2 separate regions of the Homo sapiens genome follow, and region 2 is linked to region 1. Evidence: promoter capture Hi-C in human tissues and cell types (Jung and others, 2019). All regions are on one chromosome and are shown on one strand. Each heading gives the region's core, a stretch centred on a gene start or on the middle of the fragment in contact. The rest is flanking DNA. Distances are from core to core; before and after follow the strand shown.

Region 1 (7,546 bases), core at 1,610-4,109:
AAAAAGCTTCCCCACATCTCACCCTTTATTTTCTTGTGACTTCTTTTCTGCAGCACTGCAGTCATAGATGAAGAGGCTGTCATCATCACTAAAGAGAAATAACAATAATTTTAAAAGGAGTTATCATTAGAGAGAAATAACAAATTTTTTTTTTTTGAGACGGAGTTTCGCTCTCGTTGTCCAGGCTCCAGTACAATGGCACGATCTTGGCTCACCGCAACCTCCGCCTCCCAGGTTCAAACGATTCTCCTGCCTCAGCCTCCCCAGTAGCTGAGATTACAGGCATGCACCAGCACTCCCAGCTAATTTTTACTTTTTGTAGAAACGGGGTTTCTCCATGTTGATCAGGGTGATCTCAAATCCCCAACCTCAGGTGATCCACCAACCTCAGCCTCCCAAAGTGCTCACAGGTGTGAGCCACTGCGCCTGGCCCATGTGAGCCACTGCGCCTGGCCCTAATTTTTTTTTTTTTTTTTTTTTTTGAGTTGGAGTCTCGCTCTATCACTCAGGCTGGAGTGCAAGGGCATGATCTCAGGTCACTGCAACCTCCCCCTCCTGGATTCAAGCAATTCTCCCGCCTCAGCCTTCCCGGTAGCTGGAATTACAGGTATCTGCCACCACGCCTGGCTAATTTTTGTAGTTTTGGTAGAGACGGGGTTTCGCCATGTTGGCCAGGCTGGTCTCAAGCTCCTGACCTCAGATGATCTGCCCGCCTCAGCCTCCCAAAGTGCTGAGATTATAGGCAGAGCCACTGCGCCCAGCCTAACAATGATTTTTAAAAGAGCACTTTGTTAAAAAAAAAAAAAAAAAGTTGATTTTTTTTCTCTGTGGAACAAAAAATATTTGCACACTCATTAAATTAAAAGTTGTATACTTGACAAGAAAACTGTCTAGATACAATATTTCAGGGAACAGTTAACAAACTTTATTTGCTTAATCTCTTATTGGAGTACGTCATACTGCATAGTTCTGTGGGAAAAAAAAGTTCAGTAAAACAAATGAGGGATAAATACTCAACAGGAATTAATATGCTATTCTTTTAGGCACCACAAAATCTATGCGACATGGTTATAAGAAATTACGGGCCGGGCGCGGTGGTTCACGCCTGTAATCCCAGCACTTTGGGAGGCCGAGATGGGCGGATCACGAGGTCAGGAGATCGAGACCAGCCTGGCTAACACAGTGAAACCCCCATCTCCACTAAAAATATAAAAAATTAGCCAGGCATGGTGGCAGGCGCCTGCAGTCCCAACTACTCGGGAGGCTGAGGCAGGAGAATGGCGTGAACCCGGGAGGCGGAGCTTGCAGTGAGCCAAGATCGCGCCACTGCACTCCAGCCTGGGCGACAAAGCGAGACTCCTCAAAAAAAAAAAAAAAGAAAAAAAAGAAATTATGTTCTGATACTGTTGAGCGTTCAGTGGGATTCTGTATACAAATTTCAAAGAGCCATTACTATTTAGAAACATATCTCACCTACCTGAAAGTGTTCCCATGACCCCAGGCACTTACCAACATAAGAATCACCCATTTTCCATACTGAACCTAAACTTCGGTTTATCCCATCCTCACCCCCTGGCACGTATCTTGTACATATTTATAGCCTTTAAAGCGAGTGCACCAAAAAACTTTCCATATGGAACCGTGGACTTGTCTTCCAAGTCAGAAACTCCACCAGCCACTAGAATTTCCTCAAAATGCAAAGACTGAAGGTAAGCAAATCATGTCTAATATATCCACAGCTCACTCTGGCAGATATTAGACCGTGAGTCTCTAAAACAAAATCATCTGGGATATGTGACGGGTTTCTGAGTACAATTTTTGTGAGACCTAACTTAACATCGAATTGGCTTTCTAAAACCAAACGAACAAAAAATATACAGTATATCTGACAGACACGTCGTCCGTTTCAAATATGAAATCACAAATAACCTGGGAAAGGAAACGAGGGGCTGAAACTGACAGCACTACTAATTGCTCCGAGAGTCCTGAGTTAGGACTGTTCCATCAACAAACATTTACTAAGTTAAAAATCCCCTGCGTCGTCCTAGCACTGGCGATACACTAAGGAAGGAGAATAAAATTACGGAAAGCAAAACCCGAGCCGTGCGAAGGGCCACTAGGGAGGTGCGCACTGCGAGCTCCACGTGCACCCTTGGGTTGGGTAAGTGTCGGAGATGACTTGGAGCCCTAAGGAGCAATTAAGGCCAGGTGAGTGGATGCAGGCCGGGAAGAGGGAACAGACAACCCTGCAAAAAGAGGGAGCGCGCTTGGAGGTCAGTGAGCTCGCAGTGAGTAAGCCCCTCCCTTCTCACCAGGGAGACCCGAGACCCGCTTCTTCCCAGTTCTGCAGAGCGTGTTCGGCCGGGCCTTGCTGACTGGTCAGCGTCGCCCCACGTGCTCTACCTACCCGGTCCCCGCCGGCGCCGCGGAGACCGGAAGCGACCCGGCGGCGCTAACCGGGCAAGAACACCGCAGACCAGCCATCTAGTGCAAGGAGCGCGCCGGAGCCGGGGAGCGGACGCCGAGAGCGGACGGCGAAAGCGGACCCTCCAGGCGCAGAGACGCGGCCAGGCCGAGACTGCGGCGGAGGACTCGTGGGCTGGAGCGGAGTTCCCCGGGGTCACCCCAGAGTGGGTGCGACCAGGCGGTGCGGGAGAAGCGGGGTCGCCAGGACCCGACGCGCGCCCGCAGCCTGGTCTCCCTGTTCCAAGACCAAGGCCCCCTCACCTGCTTGCTATGGAGGTGGCCAGGAATCGGCTGCCGCCCCGCACCACCAACGTCTGCCCGCACAACGCCAGTCCCACAGAGCCCGCCATGTACCCGCCCGCCTCACCGCCATACACATGTGCCAGCCCAGAGCCTCTTCCTGTCCGCACCGGTCGGTGACGCCAGGCGCAGACGCCGAGAGATGACGTATACCCCACGTACCGCGCATGCTCAAGGACGAGCCTGCCTTGAGCATGCGTGAAAGGTGCTGTGACCGCCCTCCGGGTTGTGGCTGGTGGCCTTCGGTGTTTCGGGTTTGGCAGTTCACTCACCAAGGTGATCTGATGGAGTGCACTTCGCACGATTCCAAGTACTTGCCTAATGTTCATCCTTTCCTCTAGACGGGGTAGGGCTGGTTCTGGATCTTTTTCCGCGGTAGCTGGAGAGACGTAGGACCTGATGATGGCTACTAGATGCCTGGTAAATGATCCTTCAAGAAGTGAATGAACCGGGGGCCGTGGCTCACATGAAGTCAGCAGTTCGAGAGCAGCCTGACCAATATGGTGAAACCCCGTTTCTACTAAAAGTACAAAAATTTGTTGGGCGTGGTGGCGTGCGACTGTAGCCCCAACTACTTGGGAGGCTGAGACAGAAGAATTGCCTGAACCCGGGAGGCGGAGGTTGCAGTGAGTCGAGATCGCCCCCGCTGCACTCCAGCCAGGGCGACAGAGCGAGACTCTCTCTCAAAAAAAAAAAAAATGTCCAAGATGTGGTCATGGGTGAGGGTGTCTCGGGTGGCGTCAAGTCTGAGGTCGCTAGAAGTAAGCCTACTGAATCTTTGCACTTAGACAAGCCACAGATGCCTTAAAATCTCCGAACTGTAGTGATATTTTCAACCCAAACTATGGTTAGTTTCCAGTGTTCATCCCAAGATCCCCAAAAGCCTCTTACAATCCCAGCATCAGGCACAAAATCTAGGATCTCACGGTCTGTTTTAGATTGGCTTGTCCGGTGCAGCTCCTCTTGATCCAGAGACTTACAAACTAAAAAGATTAATTTTCTCTCCCGTGCACGCAATATATGATGGTGAGCCGGGACCAGATAACCACAATAAATACTTGCATGTGAAAATGAGAAGAGGAGGAGACACAGTAATCACTGGTCCAAAGCAATTCTGAAATCCTACTGGAAGATGTTTTCAGGCCCTACAAGAATAAGAAGTCTTAACCAGGCCCGAGTTCTGCTTCCTGGGAGTATCTCCCCAGGCTGTATCTCAGCACAGCTCTTGCCTCTGCCCTCTTGGGTGTCCCTCCTTTTCCAGCACCTTCTTGGCCATGTTGAAGAATGTGCCCTTTGAGAAACTTTCTCAACCTCCTTCCTGTCATTAGCAAATTGTGAGCCCACAGACCTTTTTTCACTCTAAACTGTTCTGTCCACATTTTGGCAGCTGGTGGTGCTTTGTTCACTACAAGTCCCTTAAAAGCTTTATGGGCTTCTCAAGAATCTGATTCAGGTGCTCTCCATGCCCAAGAAGCCACTCCCACTAGTCTTTTTTTTTTTTTTAGACGGAGTCTCGCTCTGTCGCCCAGGCTGAAGTGCAACCTCCACCTCCCGAGTTCACGCCATTCTCCTGCCTCAGCCTCCTGAGTAGCTGGGACTACAGGCGCCCGCCACCACGCCTGGCTAATTTTTTGTATTTTTCAGTGGAGACGGGGTTTCACCATGTTAGCCAGGATGTTCTGGATCTCCTGACCTTGTGATCCGCCTGCCTCGGCCTCCCAAAGTGCTGGGATTACAGGCGTGAGCCACCGCGCCCAGCCACTTGTTAACATTTAAATCATTGAGATCACCTTGACTTCAGCATTATTCTTAAGGCCATATTTTATTAGCGCCACTCTGAATTTGATCTTTGGCCCAGGTTATGACTTACTTTGAGAACTTGTTACCAACTATTGGGTCTAATAATACTTTCCCCAGCTTCAACCCAAAGTGTGCTCTAAATTCTGCTGGCCAGTTTGTTTGTTTGTTTGTTTTTAACCACACTCTTTTCTATAAGTGTCTCAACATATTCAAGCAAAAGAAACACAGGTTAATCTCAACATTATACTGATATGATCTTTTTCAAGTCCCAGAGTTCAGTAGTTGCCTTTTTCTCTGCCCATCTTACTGAAGGGCAACAATTTTACAAATCCTTCACCGTGACATAGAGTTGTTCACCATTTGTCCACCTCCCGTAGTTTTCCTCACCATTGTTCCAGTGTTCACTACCAGTTTCCCCACTGCTTTTCCAGACTTCTAGTCCAAAGCTAATGCCACATGTTACAGTAGCACCTACTGCTAGGTACAAATGTCTGTAGCATGCATATCTTCCTTGTAGTCCTAGATATAGATCAACAAGCTCATAAAAACTATGGCTTTCTTTTTTTCTTTTTTTTTGAGGCGGAGTTTCACTCTTGTTGCCCAGGCTGGAGTGCAATGGCGTGATCTCCGCTCACCAAAACCTCTGCCTCCCGGGTTCAAGCGATTCTGCATCAGCCTCCCAAGTAGCTGGAATTACAGGCATGTGCCACCGTGCCCAGCTAATTTTGTATTTTTAGTAGAGACGGGGTTTCACCATGTTGGCCAGGCTGGTCTCAAACTCCTGACCTCAATTGATTCTCCTACCTTGGCCTCCCAAAGTGCTGGGATTACAGGCGTGATCCATGATCCATGTTAGTCAGGCTGGTCTCAAACTCCTGACCTCAGGTGATCTGCCCGCCTCGGCCTCCCAAAGTGTTGGGATTACAGGCGTGAGCCACTGCACCCGGCCCAACTATGGCCATTTTTATAAATCATTGATTACATTAGCCTAGAGTGAGTGTGGGCTTTCTTTTTCAATTAAGAAACTTATGGATTGGCCGGGTGCAGTGGCTCACACCTGTAATCCCAACACTTTAGGAGGCCAAGGCGAGCAGATCACCTGAGGTCAGGAGTTTGAGACCAGCCTGGCCAACACGGTGAAACCCCATCTCTACTAAAAATACAAAAATTAGCTGGGCTTGGTGGCATGCACCTGTAATCCCAGCTACTCAGAAGGCTGAGGCAGGAGAATCACTAGAACCCAGGAGGTGGAGGTTACAGTGAGCCAAGATCACCCATTGCATTCCAGCCTGGGCAACAAGGGTGAAACTCCATCTCAGAAAAAAGAAAAAAAAAACTTATGGATTGTTGTGTTGTATTTCTAGTCCTGTCCTGAGCAAAAGGTATTAGGAACCTGAGAATCCTTCCATTAGCACAATAGAAAAATGGGCAAAAAGGCCAGGCACGGTGACTCACACCTGTAATCCCAGCACTTTGGGAGGCCAAGGTAGGAGAATCAATTGAGGTCAGAAGTTTGAGACCAGCCTGGCCAACATGGGGAAACCCCATCTCTACTAAAAATACAAAAATCAGGCTGGGCGCAGTGGCTAACGCCTGTAATCCCAGCACTTTGAGAGGCCAAGGCAGGTGGATCATCTGAGGTCAGGAGTTTGAGACCAGCCTGGCCAACATAGTGAAACCCCGTCTGTACTAAAAATACAAAAATTAGCCGGGCATGGTGGCGGACGCCTGTAGTCCCAGCTACTTGGGAGGCTGAGGCAGGACAACCGCTTGAACGTGGGAGGTGGAGGTTGCAATAAGCCGAGATCATGCCACTGCACTCCAGCCTGGGTGACGGAGCAAGACTCCGTCTCAAAAAAAAAAAAAAAAAAATAGAAAAATCAGCTGGGAGTGGTGGTGCGTGCCTGTAGTCCCAGATACTCAGGAGGCTGAGGTACGAGAATCACTTGAACCGAGGAGGTGGAGATTGCAGTGAGCCGAGATTGCGCCACTGCACTCCAACCCGAGTAACAGAGTGAGACTCTGTCTCAAAAAAAAAAAAAAAAAGAAAAATGGGCAAGAAGTTACCCTTTTTTTTTTTTTTTTTACAAACTGGCAAGACGACATAAGCATTGTCTTATGGTCCTTCAGTTAAAAAAAAAATTGTGTAAAAACAAAAATGGACAAAGACCCATTAATTTCATGGTGGTTGTAGTGGGTTGAAAGGTGGCCCCCTAAAATGTATGTCCACCCCTGGAAACTGGGGATGTGACCTTTTTTGGGGAAAGGGTCTTTTCTAATGTGATTAAGTTAAGGATTGCAAAATGAGAGCATCCTGGATTTGGGTGGACCCTAAATCGAATGTTATGTGTACTGAGAAGAGAAGGGAGAAGACAGAGGAGAATGCCAGATGAAGACAGAAACAGAGATTGAAGTTATGTGGCCATAATTCAAGGATTGCTGGCAACACCAGAAGCCAAGAGAAAGATGAGGAAGAATTCTCCCCTAGACCTTTCAGAAGGAGCGTGGCCCAGCCAACACCCTGACTTCAGACTTCTGGCCTCCAGAACTGTGAGAATAAATTCTTACTGTTGTAATCCACCTGATATGTGGTAATGTGTACATTTCAGTGGGTTTTAGTATATATACAGAATTGTGCATCCATCACCACAATTTTAGAACATTTTCATCACCCACAAAATAAATCTTAAACCCAGTAGCAGTCACTCCCCCTTTCACCCTCCCCATAAACCCCTGGTAACCATTAATCTACTTTGTTTTATGGATTTTGCTAGTCTGGACATTTCATATAATCTGGCTTCTGTCACTGAATATTAGGTTTCCAAGGTTCATGGATATTGTAGCATGTATCAGTACTTCACTGCTTTTCATGGCCGAATAATATTCCACTGAATGCATATATCACATATATCACATTTTGTTTATCTGCTCATTGGTTGATAGGCAGTTTGGGATTTCCCACCTTTTGGCTATAATGAAT
Region 2 (7,546 bases), core at 1,792-4,291, 640 kb before region 1:
TGGAGAACGCTGTGTGTGCTCATCTTGGGACAGGCAGGAGAGGAGGGCAGGTGGCAGGATGAGGGCGGCTGTAGCCTGCAGGTCACACAGTGTTATGCCAGACCACGGTGCCTGCCACGCTGGGTCTCCAACGGCCACACGAGGCACTGCTTCCATGTTATCAGTGAGGAAACTGTGGCCTGGAGACAGGTGGGCGATGAGTTCAAGTTCCTGCTGCCAACAGGTGGACCCCAGGACCAAGCCTAGCCCAGTTGACCCCTGGCTCCTCCTGTTTGCTCTTTGAGATCATATGAAACAGCCAGTGACTGCCTAGGGCCATGGCCCTTTTCAGTGAACTTGAAACATTAAAATGTTTACTGCCTTCACACTTATGGCTTAAAAAGTTGTTTGGTTTGTGTTTTCTTTGAGATGGAGTCTCGCTTTGTCACCCAGTCTGGAGTGCAGTAGCGCAATCTCAGCTCACTGCAACCTCCGCCTCACAGATTCAAGTGATTCTTCTGCCTCAGCCTCCCACGTAGCTGGGATTACAGGCGCCCATCACACCCGGCTAATTTTTGTGTTTTTAGTAGAGATGGGGTTTCGCCATGTTGGCCAGGCCGGTCTCGAACTGCTGACCTCAGGTGATCCACCCGCCTTGGCCTCCCAAAATGCTGGGATTACAGGCGTGAGCCACCGCACCCAGCCAGAAAGTTAATTTTAATGAGAATGAAGCCGCATCATTGAAAAGTCTGATGAGCTTGGGAGTTGTCTAATGGTGGAGGCTGCCAGCCAGGTCTCATGACCTGGACCAGATTAAGCCCTACTGTCCATCTTCAGGGAGAGTAAACAGCGTGACCAGCACGGGCCACGCTTGCTCACACCCACCAGATGTGCGTTCCCGCACCACCCAGGGGACCGAGGGCACAGGTGGGGAGTTAGGAGGGAATTCAGGGCATGGGCAGACCCTCTGAAGGAATCCAGGAGGCTTGGGATCTGGAATGGACACTCTGGGCTGACAGTCAACAGTCCTGGTGAATAGCATGTTGGTCTCTGGGACTCTTATCCTTCTGACTTTCACAGACACGTAGTGAGAGCACTGGCCACGTTCAGACGTGACTGCCTGTCAGGATTCTGACGGAGGTGACCCTGGCTGGGCCACCAGCTTTCAGCATCCATTTATCGTAAAAGCCAAGTGCACAGTGGAGATGCTTTTCTCCCCACAACATCCGTGAGCTCATCATAAACAGAAACGGGGAAATTCATCAGAGTGTGTTTCTGTGAGGAGTTAAAAAATCCACAGGGCAGTAATCCCAGCACTTTGGGAGGCTGAGGCGGGTGAATTACTTGAGGTCAGGAGTTTGAGACTAGCCTGGCCAACATGGTGAAACCCCATCTCTACTAAAAATACAAAAATTAGCTGGGCATGATGGTACACGCCTGTAGTCCCAGCTACTCAGGAGGCCGAGGCACAAGAATCACTTGAACCCGAGAGGCAGAGGTTGCAGTGAGCTGAGATCGCACCACTGCACTCCAGCCTGAGTGACAGAGTGAGACCCTGTCTCAAAAAAAAAAAATAACAAAAAAAAAACAAAACCCAAAATCCCTAAGGTGTTTATAATTTTATACTGTTTCCTAAGGGATTCTCTTGCATTAAAAATGCCCTGCTGGGTGCAGTAGCTCACACCTGTAATTCCAGCACCTTGTGGGGCTGAGGTGGGAGGATTGCTTGAGAGCAGGAGGTCGAGACCAGCCTGGGCATCAGAGACCCTATCTCTATTAAAAAAAAAAAAAAGCCAGGCATGGGGCATGCCTGTGGCCCCAGTTACTTGGGAGGCTGAGGTGGGAGGATCACTTGAGGCCAGGAGGTTGAGGCTGCAGTGAGTCATTATCACACCACTGCACTCCAGCCTGGACAACAGAGCAAGACCCTGTCTCAAAAAAAAAAAAAAAAAAAGAACTCCCCATGGTGTTTTTGGTTACTTGTTTTACAAATATGCCTGCCATTGAAAGCACAAAACAGTGAAATCCCTTTCTAAAGTATATGGGGCCAGCCACAAAGTAGACTCCAGTACATTTTATTTTAAGCAAAGTTACAAAGCACATGCAGTTCTTACTACTGTATTTTGATTTTCTGAGTTTCCTTTAGGAAATATTGGCTTTTTAAAAAGACTATACAATGGGCCTGGCACAGTGGCTCAGGCCTATAACCCCAGTGCTTTGGGAGGCCAAGGCAGGAGGACTGCTTGTGCCCAGGAGTCCAAGGCCAGCCTCAGCAACATAGCGAGACGCTGTCTCTACAGAAAATAAGATGAGCAGAGCATAGTAGTGTGCACCTGTAGTCCCAGCTACTGAGGAGGCTGAGCGGGGAGGGTTGCTTGAGGCTAGGAGTTCAAGGCTGCAGTAAGCTATGATAGCACTGCTGCATACTCCAGCCTGGGTGACAGCAGAGACCCTGTCCCTAAAAACAAAACAACACAAAAACTCAAACTGCACAATGAGAGAGGAGGAGGGAGCTGTATTATAGATGTGTGGTACCTGGAACCAAGTGGTGACGCTGAGGAGGGCGGAAGGAGCATGATGAGAGGTGGCTGGGTGACTTGGCTGCTGGAGAACGCTGGCCATTAGGGCACATTCATTCTGTTCCGGCTCTTGTGTTATTTCACACTTTCCACATCCCAGTCCTTTAGAGCCGACCATGAACCGGGGCAGTGAACCATATCGTTGTTTGTTGTGTTTTTTGGTTTTTGTGACTTCAGAGGCTGAAGTGCAATGAGGCAATCAAGCGAGCTCCACCATGGCCCTGAGGGCTTGTGAAAATGCAGGTGGCTGGGCTGCACCCCCGGGGGTCTGAGTGAGCAGGTTTGGGGCAGGCAGGGTTCCGTGTCTGATAAGTATGGGGCGATGCTGCTGTTGCTGGTCCAGGGATCCCACTTTGAGAACTGCTGAATTAGAGTAAAGAGGAGTTGATGGCCATGTGGGAGCCACCCTGAGCCCTGGGAAAACTGGAGCAGGAGGTGGCATCACCCACACTTGCACCACAGGCAGGAGTGAGGGCCCTGCTCTCCCATGGTCAGGCAGCCTCAGCATCTCACCACTCCCTGGCCTTCAAAGTCAGCTTTCCTTGTGAACCTGGGTGGTCAGAGATGCAGACAGCAGGGCCAGGTGGTGTCTCACGAGTCGCACTATGAATGTGGGGAGCCCGTCGGCCCCTCCCTCTGCAGGGAGGAGAGTTAAAGCTCATGTCCTCCAGGGTACCTTCCTCGGGGGTGGTGGACTGCTGCACGCCAGGGAACAGGGCAGAAGTGCCTGGATTCAGCAATTTATATTATTATTTAAGAGAGAGCAGATTTTATTTTTATCTTAATCTGTTTCACAGAACCATATTTTAATACCGTGTGTGTGCGCGTGTGTGTGTGTGTGTGTGTGTGTGTGTGTGTGTGTGTGTGTGCGCTGGTTTATAATATCACCTGGGCGGGATAAAGAAGATTAGGTTCCTTTCTGCTTATTTGTAAAACCTGTTCAAGCTGCAGTAAGATTGTCATGATCTCCATCATCATCTGATTTATCCCCCAGCCAGTTCCTCTGTAAAATCTGGAAAGACAGTAGTTGCTGAGGGGCTGCAACAGAGGATTGGCGTGAGAGTGGAGAGGTTTTTGCAGGATTCCCGGCGCCCTGTCCAGACAGCGGTGGTGGAGAGAAGCAAAGAGAAGTGCAGTTTCTATCTAAACTAGTAATTTTCTTTCCTCTTCTGTAAGCCCTCTTTATCTTTGGCTTTTTTTTTTTTTTTTTTTTTTGAGACGGAGTCTCACTCTGTCGCCCAGGCTGGAGTGCAGTGGTGCGATCTCGGCTCACTGCAAGCTCCGCCTCCCGGGTTCACGCCATTCTCCTGCCTCAGCCTCCCGAATAGCTGGGACTACAGGCGCCCGCCACCACGCCCGGCTAATTTTTTGTATTTTTTAGTAAAGACGGGGTTTCACCATGTTAACCAGGATGGTCTCAATCTCCTGACCTCGTGATCCGCCCATCTCGGCCTCCCAAAGTGCTGGGATTACAGGCGTGAGCCCCCACGCCCGGCCTATCTTTGGCTTTAAAAAAATGTTTTAAATTGCTCTTTTCTTGCTAAAACATCACTGTAAGTGATAAAATTATTTGCAGAGGCTGGAACATGAGGTTAGCTGGGGGTGGAGAGGGCATCCTAGGAGTGGACATGGGAGCTCACAGGGATTCAGGAGGGCATCCAGACCCTGAACTTCCTTCGTCCCCTCCCAGTGCAAGGTTCTGACAAGAGCCTGCCTGAGCCCTTCTCTCAGTATTTAGTAACACTCGATCCTAACAGAAGAAGGTCGGCCATTTCCACCGTCCTCTGTGCCAGCTCTCAGGACCAGATTAGAAACACAGTTAACACAGCCATTGCCTTGCCAATAAATTGATAAAGCTAAAAGACTTCAAAAGCTTCTCTTCTGCACTGCATTTCCTAAAGTCTAATTTACAGTCTTGTCTTACTTTGCAATTCCCACTCTTTTTTTTGGTGAAGAAATTGAGCTTTTCCTCATCTAAAATCACGGCAGATTTTGAGTTGCAAGGATCACAATTAGTGAATTTTAAAAATTATACCTGGAACAGGCACATGGCAGTGGTCGTCTGAGAATGAGCTGGGAGGTGTGAAACCTTCTTGCCACTGACACTCAAGGACAGGGCTGTTTACATGACATCCATTTCCAAGCCACAGAAAGCTTGGGAACACCCACTTAGAGCTGAGAGTGACCTTCCCTATGGGAGAGGCACACTTACAAAGGGAACGACCGTAGGCAGGTGAAATCCCCACCTTGCTGTTGGAACCCGAGCTTCAGAGAGGGCTGTTGACTTGGCTGGAGCCATCCGTGGAAGGGGTGCATTGAAACCACAGGTGAGAACTCCATGTGGGAATCCACCACCCTCTGAGAACGACCCTCAGGAAGAGGACCTCCTTCCCCAGTCATGTCCCAGCTCTGCCCCCACGCGCTCCACGAGCTCAGGCCTGCAGTGGGAGCTGAGCGTCTGGAGTGAGGAGTGGTGTTTGCCAGACCTTGTGTTCCCTGGGCTGCCTGGAGGGGCTCCTCCAGTGAATCTAGACACCCCACACTTTGTACCAGGGAGTGGAAAGGGTGATATGAACTTCTGCATCCGAGGACTTCTGAAAAGCCACAGATGGAAGAACCAAAGAAAACAGGATTTACTTAGAAGGTTGAGCCTCTCCACTGGCTCGCATATAGGTCTAACTTACAAGGAACCTGTTGGGTTGTGGTTTTTGTAGTTATAAAAATTATTAAGGAACCAGAAAATTGCATTCTTCTCCAATTGGTTTTAGGCATTCAGTCCAGATACAAGGATTATGAAACTTAAAAAGCAGCATCTTAAGCCCGGCTTAACCCCAAACAACATCTTAACCCCAGTGAAGTGTTCTTGAAGGGTGGGTGCGGCCACACATCCTGCAATCCAGTGCAGACCAGATGGCCTCCCTGGCCAACCACGGGGACAGGAAGAAGAAGGACAGAGGACACAGGAGAGACAGGACTGAGCTGGGTTCCCATGTGGTGTGAGGGAGGCAGGGAATGGCCCAGAAGGCTGGATCTGCAAACAGGAGTCGCATCAGAGACAGAGAAGAGAGCACAGCTCAAGGCTGAGATAAGACCAGGAGAACTGGGGCTGTATTTCCTTATCTATTCCTGAGATCCATGCTTTCTGAAAATCATCTGCACATCTAAGCATCTTGGCACAACTCCGATGAGGAGGGGATGGGGCACCAGGCAGCAGACTCTGATGAGGAGGGGAGGGGGCACCAGGCAGCAGACTCTGATGAGGAGGAGACAGGGCACCAGGCAGCAGAAAGTGCTGACTCAGCAGCACAAGACCACATGGCCGGCTTCCCTTCTTCCTCGGAATGGCCTGGAATTCGATCAAGAACAGCAGCCCCAGGAGCATCCTAGAGAGGTGGGGGCAGGCGGGGGACATGGTGAGGGAGGGAGTGGCAACTCTGGGCAGGTGGCAAGAGCCAGCTGATGAGTACAGGGAGGGAGTTCCCTTCTCCACCCATCCACACTGACATCTGGGGAACTCATTTAAGCTACAGATGCCAGCTTTTGGATTTGCAGAACGGTGCAGTGACTGAATTCGCCATCCAAACACTTAGAAGAATAAATGCACCAGTTTCTACAGAGGCTGTAGATATAAAGCCATTTCTCAAGAGGAATGATAGTTGTCACTGGATATAGGATAGCTTTGAAAAGGAAAGATTATGGAGATATTTGTCACCTCTTTAAGATACTGGCAAAACAATAAAGCTGTTCTAATAATTTACCTGTTAATAAATATTTTCATAAAATAATCTCAGTCCATGTGCAAAAATAATAAACAATGCTGCTTTGCTCTGATGGCTAAAAGAAAGAGATTCTCAGTTCCAGCTTTTCCTCACTGACGTAAAGGGATGGGATATCATTTCATGAGCTTTTAAGTTTCTTCATCATTTTTCCTTTCAGAAAGTAACAAATGTAATTTCAAGATACAATGGCGTATGTGTATATATATGAATATGTATGTATTGATGCTTCTATACATAAAGACACATGTATGATTATATTTTAATGAGAGCACTTTTTTTAAGTCAGGAAAAGACCTTAAAGATTCATATAGTCCACGCTCCACATTTCATAGATTAGAAACCCAAGGCGCAGGCTGAGATTTTTAGTTTAAAATAAACCAGTTTTTGAGATGAAATTCTGGTACTGCCACATCTAAATTTGAATCTTATATGCCTGTATTTATTTGTTCTGAGCAAGAAGGTTTGATTCCATCATTAATTAAAAAGTCTCAGGCAACCAGACTGGGATAAGTTTTTAAAAGAAAAAAAAATCCTACAATTAAAATGAAGCCACAAGACTTAGAATTTGACCGTGATTTTAAAACTATTCTAAAGAAACTTTGTTTTACTTCAAGTTAGACGTGACTGTCTAAGGTAAGGTATATGAACTATTATAAACTTCCCAGAAACAATTTCTAGCTGGTCCTCTTTCTGTTTCTTGGTGAGTTTGTGTCTTTCTCTGAGTAATTTTCAGGATAAAAATATTTGAAATTCTTTTTTCTATTTTCATTATGGGGAAAAAGCATCTTGTCTTCATTCAACAAACTTTTATTATCTGTTATAAGCAAAGTATTTTTGCTCAGTCTTGGGGAGGAAAAAGTAAAGATAGCATGTCCCTCAATGAGTTTATAATTGATAGGGACACAAGGAGCTCTCACTATCAGGCAGGGGTTATCTAAGACAGTGAATAATGCCCAGAGAAGGGTTATAGGAATTGGAGGAGGATGAGAATCTCTGGAGAAATCACAGCCTTTGGAAAAGGCCACAAAGAGGGGCAGAACCCGGGGGCACCCGGTGGAGAACTGAGCAGGTGTGGTGTTTAGAATTTAGGTAACGGGAGAGTATGGTGATGGGCAGTCTTGGAAATGGACTTTCTGGGAAGCATTTGGGTGGAGATCTTGGACTAGACTGGTGACTATGGTGTAGTGGGTTGATGGTGACCCTCCAAAA

What was found. Contacts are between HindIII fragments. The study calls those that stand out against the background at their distance.
Region 2: a fragment that was not itself captured here is called in contact with the fragment with the promoter of WDR4 in region 1 in 1 of the 25 tissues and cell types used here (spleen).

The regions. Positions count from the first base shown.
Region 1 is chr21:42,876,680-42,884,225 of GRCh38, forward strand. It overlaps WDR4 (WDR4 tRNA N7-guanosine methyltransferase non-catalytic subunit), which reads right to left and starts at 2,860. Exons shown (of 11, transcript NM_018669.6): 1 at 2,728-2,860; 2 at 23-88. The coding sequence starts at 2,816. LOC105372817 (a long non-coding RNA gene) reads left to right here and starts at 3,033. Exons shown (of 4, transcript XR_937765.3): 1 at 3,033-3,076; 2 at 6,927-7,116. RefSeq lists enhancers at 922-1,885, 1,886-2,850, 2,503-2,552, 2,583-2,692, 2,763-3,112. The HindIII fragment of the contact is 11,595 bases long and covers 1-7,546 here.
Region 2 is chr21:42,240,064-42,247,609 of GRCh38, forward strand. The region is part of intron 2 of ABCG1 (ATP binding cassette subfamily G member 1); the gene reads left to right. Among named protein-coding and RNA genes, the nearest start is that of ABCG1, 25 kb to the left of the region's middle. The HindIII fragment of the contact is 3,059 bases long and covers 1,513-4,571 here.